Regions from separate parts of the Homo sapiens genome. Here region 2 is linked to region 1. Evidence: promoter capture Hi-C in 16 types of primary human blood cells and fetal thymus (Javierre and others, 2016). All regions are on one chromosome and are shown on one strand. The core of a region is centred on a gene start or on the middle of the fragment in contact, and the rest is flanking DNA. Distances in the headings are between cores, read along the strand shown. Region 1 holds the start of ZGLP1 (zinc finger GATA like protein 1). Region 2 overlaps TYK2 (tyrosine kinase 2).

Evidence for each region. The method cuts DNA at HindIII sites, captures the fragments that hold promoters and counts their contacts. A CHiCAGO score of 5 or more calls a contact.
Region 2: a fragment that was not itself captured here is called in contact with the fragment with the promoter of ZGLP1 in region 1 in 1 of 17 cell types (monocytes); the score reaches 5.3 in monocytes.

Annotation. Positions count from the first base shown.
Region 1 is chr19:10,307,852-10,311,947 of GRCh38, reverse strand. ZGLP1 (zinc finger GATA like protein 1) reads left to right here and starts at 2,133. Exons shown (of 5, transcript NM_001409033.1): 1 at 2,133-2,599; 2 at 3,398-3,763. The coding sequence starts at 2,463. It overlaps FDX2 (ferredoxin 2), which reads left to right. Exons shown (of 5, transcript NM_001397406.1): 4 at 1,008-1,095; 5 at 1,306-1,903. The coding sequence ends at 1,462. FDX2-ZGLP1 (FDX2-ZGLP1 readthrough) reads left to right here. Exons shown (of 9, transcript NR_176052.1): 4 at 1,008-1,095; 5 at 1,306-2,599; 6 at 3,398-3,763. The HindIII fragment of the contact is 20,285 bases long and covers 1-2,506 here.
Region 2 is chr19:10,367,397-10,371,492 of GRCh38, reverse strand. It overlaps TYK2 (tyrosine kinase 2), which reads left to right. Exons shown (of 25, transcript NM_003331.5): 4 at 3,075-3,198; 5 at 3,291-3,438. Among named protein-coding and RNA genes, the nearest start is that of TYK2, 11 kb to the left of the region's middle. The HindIII fragment of the contact is 4,563 bases long and covers 1-4,096 here.

The sequences.
Region 1 (4,096 bases), core at 884-3,383:
ATTGAGCCGAGATCATACCATTGCACTCCAGCCTGGGCAAAGAGAGCGAAACTCCACCTCAAAAAAAAAAAAAAAAAAAAATTAGCCAGGTGTGGTGGTGCGCACATGTAGTCCCAGCTACTCGGGAGGCTGGGGTGGGAGGATCGCTTGAGCCGGGAGGTTGAGGCAGTAAGCTATGACTGAGCCATGGCACTCCAGGCTGGGCAACAGAGTGAGACCCTGTCTCAAAAAAAAAAAAAAAAAATCCTGGCCGGGTGCAGTGGCTTACGCCTGTAATCCCAGCACTTTGGGAAGCTGAGGCGGGCAGATCATGAGGTCAGGAGATCAAGACCATCCTGGCTAACATGGTGAAACCCCAGCTCTACTAAAAAAATATAAAAAAATTAGCCAGGCGTGGTGGCAGGCACCTGTAGTCCCAGCTACTTGGGAGGCTGAGGCAGGAGAATGGCGTGAACCCGGGAGGCAGAGCTTGCAGTGAGCCGAGATCGTGCCACTGCACTCCAGCCTGGGCAACAGAACAAGACTCCATCTCAAAAAAAAAAAAAACAAAATCCTAATGCCTGATTCCTTCCCCCACCACACTGACTGCTGAGTCAGCCGGTCCATCCTCCAAGAGCAGTGGAGAGGTGGGGACACATTAGCCCAGCACAGTGATAGGGTCACAGCAAGGGCTCACAGACTGCGGGGAGCCTGCCTGGCCTTTCCCCTCTCAGCTACCTGGCAGCCAAGTCCCTGCTCCTTAATGGTTCTGCATCTCAGCCTGCTAGGGAGTCCCTGGGAAATGGGGCCTCCCAGATGTCCGTTTGTAAACCCTACACACTGGGGAACAGCTAGCTGAGGACATTGAGGACATGACACAGTGCCTGGTACACACAGTGGAGCTGCAGGCCCAGGAGGGAGACGTGAGGCACGTGGTGGAAGAGAGGTCTACTCCTCTACGCCATTCGCATAGCAGCCCCTTCCTGACTCTGCCACTCACCTGCGCCCCCTTCACTTCCCACCCCTAGGGGCCTGTGAAGCCTCCCTGGCCTGCTCCACCTGCCATGTGTATGTGAGTGAAGACCACCTGGATCTCCTGCCTCCTCCCGAGGAGAGGTGAGTGGGTCAGCCCTGTCTAGCTGGCAGCTTCACCCTGGAGCATTCAGCAGCCCCCACCATCCTCCCCACTTCCAGTTCCTGGAATGGGAGCTGCCTCCCCCACCACTACCCCCTGCGCTCAGTCAGCTTCCTCCCTCCCCCACCTCTGGCCCCCCACCCACCCAGCTAGCTTGCCCTCGGCTAACACTGCCCGTGTCACCACCCTAGGGAAGACGACATGCTAGACATGGCCCCCCTCCTCCAGGAGAACTCGCGGCTGGGCTGCCAGATTGTGCTGACACCGGAGCTGGAAGGAGCGGAATTCACCCTGCCCAAGATCACCAGGAACTTCTACGTGGATGGCCATGTCCCCAAGCCCCACTGACATGAACACCTGGACCATTCCACATTGCCATGGCCCCAGGGCCCAGATTGAGGGAATAGCCAGGTGCCAGCCCTGCCCAGAGTGCGGACAGGCCCGGGAGAGACGTGGAAGCCCCTGTGAAGGACAACACCCCTGCTTGGGAGAGAGTCCCATGTCCAGGCTCTGGTGGGGACAGGGCCCCTAGTGGGGTGGCCTTCCCCAGGCCCCTGAGAATCAGGGTTTGAGTAGGAGTGGACTCATATTGGAGCTGCAATAAATCGATAACACAGGCCCCAGCATGTTGAGTGTCCTTGGGGGACAGATCTGGGGTCTACAGGTGGCTCACACCTGTAATCCTAGCACTTTGGGAAGCCAAGATGGGAGGATCACTTGAGGCCAGGAGCTTAAGACCATCCTGGGCAACATGGCGAGACCTCGTCTCTATAAAAACAGTAAAAATTAGCGTGGAGTGGTGGTAAGTGCCTGTAGTCCCAGCTACTCGGGAGACTGAGGTGGGAGGATCACTTGAGCCCAGGGGATTTAGGCTGCAGTGGAGCGGTGATCAGGCCATTCCACTCCAGCCTGGGTGACAGAGTGAGGCCCTGTCTCAAAAAAAAAAAAAACAAAAACAAAAACAAACCACACCTGCATCTGCTGTGCTGGGCCCCCGGTTCTCTTTTCCCTCTGGGATCTAAGATGCCGCTGGGGATCCAAGGCAGAGGCCTGGGAGCCCCCATTTCCGAGGGGGAGGGCTAGCGTGGAAGGCCCCGCCCCGGCAGCTGCGGAGGGATTTGGTGGGGTCCAGGCCGCCCTTGCCACGCAGGGGTGCGCGGATGACCTGAAAAAAGCCAGAAAGAGGAAAGGTGCCGCCGAGGCTGGTCGCTCTCAGCTGGGGCTCATCGCATCCTCTACCAAGAGCGCTCCCACCACACAGGTCCCGCCCCTCCCAGGTGGGTTTCATCGGGTGGGCCCAGCGGGACAGGGCCGGGTGAAATTAGGGAGGGGGCTGGGCTGGGGCGCAATGGAGGCCGAGCCAATCCCGGACTCCTCAATGCCAGCAAAGCTTCTGGCGCCGCCCTGTCTGAACCTGGAGCGGCTGGGAGGATCCCCCTCCCAGGAGAAGCCGAGGACCCCAGGATGCTGCAGAATCAGTGAGAGGTGCGTAAGGCCAAACCCCATTCCCCGGACCCCGCTAGCACTTCACCACCTGGCTCAGTGATCAAGGGGTCATGACCTCTCTTTGCTGGGGTTATCGAGAAGTGGCAATTTTATAATAGTTACTGAAACTTACAAAGAGGTTCTGGTGCCCAGAGACACTTGGGGTCATCTAGGGATCAGAGGCCATGCAATTCCATGTCTCTGGGGCTGATGTAGGCACTCCCCAGGGATCATCCAGGGGTTATGGAGGGCAACTCAATAATAATGAAAATGATAAAAATCGTAATCATATTATGGCAAGCCAGCGGCGTGGTGGCGCGTGCCTGTAAGTCCCAGCTACTCGGGAGGCTGAGGCGGAAGGATCGGTCGAGCCCAGGAGTTCTAGGCTGCACTGAGTCCTGATCACGCCCCTGCACTCCAGGCGGGGGTACAGAGTGAGGCTCGGTCTCTAAAAGAAACACAAAGAAAAAAAGTAACCTTTTTCTCGATCCTGCAGCCAGAGGCTTGATATCCTGCCTCGGTCACCTAGGGCGGTCCCTGCCTGGGTGATCTACGGGTGCCGTAAGGGGTTGATTGATGTGGAGGGCTGGGCGTGCCTGGGAGGCCCACAGTGGGCGAGGTGAGTTGCAATTACTGCAACTCTTAAACCTTCCACCCAGAGTTAGAAATGACTGAACCTCAGGTGGGGTGTGTAGCCTGTCCAAGGGTACACAAAGAGCCGGCCCAAGTTGGAACCCCCTGGCCGGCTAAACCCAGGAGTCACCCAAGAAAACGTGACCCCACTGCCCTTCTCCCCAGGTCCCTCTGGCCTGCATGCCAGGAGTCGGTCACCGCCCTGTGCTTCCTCCAAGAGACAGTGGAGAGGCTGGGTCAGTCCCCTGCCCAGGACACCCCGGTCCTGGGGCCTTGCTGGGACCCGATGGCTCTGGGGACTCAGGGCCGCCTGCTGCTGGACAGGGATTCCAAGGACACACAGACCAGGATCAGCCAAAAGGGCCGCCGTCTGCAGCCCCCGGGGACTCCCTCGGCCCCACCCCAGAGAAGGCCCCGGAAACAGCTGAACCCCTGCCGGGGCACCGAGAGAGTGGACCCTGGGTTCGAGGGGGTGACTCTGAAGTTTCAGATAAAGCCGGACTCCAGCCTGCAGATCATCCCCACGTACAGGTAGGGGCCGGCTGGGGCCAGGCCGCCCTTTCTCCCAGTTACAACGCAAACACCAGTGTGGGAGGTAGGGGTGCTCTCTGGCGTCGGTGTGGACCCTCACCTGTGCTCTACGTTACACGTGGCCCAGTCTCTGGTTGACAACTTGAGCTGGTGCCAGATACAGTCCTGCCGCTCCTGACTCAGTGGCTCCCCACTCCCAATGTGAGACCTGGTCTCTTTAGGAATCAGGCCTGGCCTTGCTTAGGCTGCAGCTGCGGCTGCGGTGATTTTTCCCAATAATGCTAACAGCTACTATTTGTTGGTAGTGACAACAATAAGAGGTTAACAGGCAGT
Region 2 (4,096 bases), core at 798-3,297, 60 kb before region 1:
AATTTTGTATTTTTAGTAGAGACGGGGTTTCTCCATTTTGGTCAGGCTGGTCTCGAACTCCCGACCTCAGGTGATCCGCCTCCCTCAGCCTCCCAAAGTGCTGGGATTACAGGCGTGAGCCACTGTGCCCAGCCACAGTTCATAACATTTAAGGCTAGATTGTAGAGGATATGAAAATTATAAACACTACTTCAGGGCAGAGCACACTGGCTTATGCCTGTAATCCCAGCACTTTGGAGGCTGAGTAGCTCAGCCTCCCAGCTACTCAGGAGGCTGAGGTGGGAGGATCACTTGAGCCTAGGAGTTTGAGACCAGCCTGGACAACATGGTGAGACCCCTTCTCTACAAAAACTACAAAAATCAGCTGGGCATGGTGGCGTGCGCCTGTAGTCCCAGCTCCTTGGGAGGCTGAGGCAGGAGGATTGCTTTAGCCCAGTAAGTCGAGGGTGCAGTGAGCCATGATCACACCACTGCACTCCAGCCACACCTGGCTAATTTATTTTATTTTTAGTTTTTTTAGAGATGAGGGGTCTCACTATGTTGCTTAGGCTGGTCTTGAACTCCTAGGTTCAAGTGATTCTCCCGCCTTAGCCTCCCAAAGTGCTGGGATTACAGATGTGAGCCACCATACCCAGCTTTAGATAAAATTATTTATTTCATTTTATTATTATTTTTTTAGACAGAGCCTCACTCTTTCACCCAGGCTGGAGCGCAGTGGCGTGATCTCGGCTCACTGCAACCTCTGCCTCCAGGTTCAAGCAATTCTCTTGCCTCAGCCTGCTGAGTAGCTGCGATTACAGGTGCTCACCCCCACACCCAGCTAATTTTTGTATTTTTAGTAGAGACGAGGTTTTGCTCTGGTGGCCAGGCTGGTCTCAAACTCCTGCCCTCAAGTGCTTCACCTGCCTCAGCTTCCGAAAGTGCTGGGACTATAGGCATGGGCCACTGCACCCAGCCAGATACCATTTTTTTTTTTTTTTTTGAGACAGTCTTGCTGTGTCGCCAGGCTGGAGTGCAGTGGCACAATCTCGGCTCACTGCACCCTCCACCTCCCGGGTTCAAGCGATTGTCCTGCGTCAACCTCCGGAGTAGCTGGGACTAAAGGTGCACCCCACCATGGCCAGCCAATTTTTTTTTTTCAGATCTCACTCTGCCGCCCAGGCTGGAGCTCAGTGGCACGATCTTGGCTCACTGCAACCTCCGCCTCCCGGGTTCAAGCAGTCCTCCTGCCTCAGCCTCCCAAGTAGCTGGAATTACAGGCACATGCCACCAGGTCCAGCTATTTTTTTTTTTAATAGAGATGGGATTTCACCATGCTGGCCACGCTGGTCTCGAACTCCTGACCTCAAGTGATCCACCTGCCTCAGACTCCCAAAGTGTTGGGATTACAAGTGTGCACCCTCGAGCCTGGCCATGGCTGATTCTTTGTTTTGTTTTGTTGTGTTGTTTGAGACAGAGTCTCGCTCTGTCGCCCAGGCTGGAGTGCAGTGGCGCAATCTCGGCTCACTGCAAGTTCCACCTCCTGAATTCACACCATTCTCTTGCCTCAGCCTCCCAAGTAGCTGGGACTACAGGCATCCGCCACCATGCCTGGCTAATTTTTTGTATTTTTTAGTAGAGACGGGGTTTCACCATGTTAGCCAAGATGGTCTTGATCTCCTGACCTCGTGGTCTGCCCACCTCAGCCTCCCAAAGTGCTGGGATTATAGGCGTGAGCCACTGCGCCCGGCCGACAGGTACAATTTTTAAATGACATCAGTAGAAGAAAGATACCCTGGGTAGCTGGTGTGGGAAATTACAGCAAGTCTGGAGACTGGATTGGGGTTGAGGTTTGCATTTGAAGGTGGTGGATGGAGCCCCAGGACATGGAGGGTGCAGGAAGAGCAGGTCTTGGTGACCGATCTGTTTTGGAGCAGGTGGGAGAGGTTGAAGATAAGGACCAAGTTCCTGGTTTGAAGAACTGGGCAGAAGCCACACACCCTGGCTCATAGCCATAATCCCATCAACTCCAGAGATTGAGGTGGGAGGATCGCTTGAGCCCTGGAGGTTGAGGCTGCAGTGAGCTAGGATTGCACCACTGCACTGCAACCTGGGTGGCAAAGAAAGACCCTGACCCTTAAAAAAAAAAGGGCAGAGGAAGGGAAGGTTGGAGTTTGCCAACCACAGATAAGATATGTTGTTTGGAACAAGCCATATCTAAGGGGGGGCCTGTGATGTCCAGGGGGAGACAGCCAGGAGGTGACTGGATGTTTCTTTGGGGCTGGAGTTCAGGGAGACGCCAGACAATTGCAGCAGTTTGTAGAGTTATGTGGGTCAGGCTAGGATTAGTTTTGCTGCAGGAATAAGCAATCCCCCCAAATCTTAATCAAGGTTTACCTAAAATCGGCCGAGCACAGTGGCTCATGCCTGTAATCTCAGCACTTTGGGGGGCCAAGGTGGGCAGATCACCTGAGGTCAGGAGTTTGAGACCAGCCTGGCCAACATGGCGAAACCTCGTCTCTTCTAAAAATACAAAAACTAGCCGGGGTTGGTGGCGCACACCTGTAATCCCAGCAACTCAGGAGGCTGAGACAGGAGAATCACTTGAACCCAGGAGGCGGAAGTTGCAGCGAGCCAAGATCGTGTCACTGCTCTCCAGCCTGGGCAACAGCAAGACTCCATCTCAAAAAAAAAAAAAAAGTTTTACTTAAAATCAAGTACAGGTTGGATGGTTCACCTCTGTCTTACAGCTTCACCATCTGTCACAAGAAGCCTTCATCATACCTCGGGTGGTGAAGGTGGCAAGAGAATTTATTTCCAGGCTTGGAAATGTACCCAGCCCTTTGGCCAGAAACCAGCAGTGCAATTGGCTCCATCCTAGCTGCAAGGGAGGCTGGGAAATGTAGTCCTCCTGTGAGGCCACAGCATGGGCAACATACGCACTGTCCTCTGCCCAGGGGCAACGTGAGACTGAAGCTGCAGGTGGGGGAGGGGGCCTCAGAGGGAGTGTGAAGGCAGACATTGGGTCTGGGGGGTCTTTGGGGCTGACGGTAGCAAATGACGTGACTCCTGACCTCGTTTCTCACCTGATCCAGGTATCACTCCTCCTTGCTTCAATCTCTTTGCCCTCTTCGATGCTCAGGCCCAAGTCTGGTTGCCCCCAAACCACATCCTAGAGATCCCCAGAGATGCAAGCCTGATGCTATATTTCCGCATAAGGTGGGTGGAGACCTTTGCAAAGCTCGTCCCCTCCTGTGCTGAAGCTGGTCTGACTCTGTGCTAAGCCCCAGCTGCGTCCCTCCTTCCTGCAGGTTTTATTTCCGGAACTGGCATGGCATGAATCCTCGGGAACCGGCTGTGTACCGTTGTGGGCCCCCAGGAACCGAGGCATCCTCAGATCAGACAGCACAGGGGATGCAACTCCTGGACCCAGCCTCATTTGAGTACCTCTTTGAGCAGGTATGAGCAGGGCTGGGGTGGCAAGACTATTTGTGGGAGACTTAGGGGCAGTTGAGGAGCCCCCATTTCCCTCCCTGATTCAATATAGCTAATAGGTTTCAACTCATGCTATCTGGGGATCTTTTTTTTTTTTTTGAGACGGAGTCTTGCTCTGTCGCCCAGGCTGAAGTGCAGTGATGTGATCTCGGCTCACTGCAAGCTCCGCCTCCCAGGTTCCCGTCATTTTCCTGCCTCAGCCTCCCAAGTAGCTGGGACTACAGGCGCCCGCCACCATGCCCAGCTAATTTTTTGTATTTTTAGTGGAGACGGGGTTTCACAGTGTTAGCTAGGATGGTCTCCATCTCCTGACCTCGTGATCTGCCCGCCTCGGCCTCCCAAAGTGCTGGGATTACAGGCGTGAGCCACCGCTCCCAGCCGATCTTTTTTTTTTGAAATGGAGTCTTGCTCTGTGGCCCAGGCTGGAGTGCAGTGGCGTGATCTCAGCTCACTGCAACTTCCACCTCCCAGGTTGAAGCGATTCTTCCACCTCAGCCTCCCAAGTAACTGAGATTACAGAAGCCCGCCACCACCCCAGGCTAATTTTTCTATTTTTAGTAAAGACGGGGTTTCACCATGTTGGCCAGGCTGGTCTCAAACTCCTGACCTCAAGTGATTCACC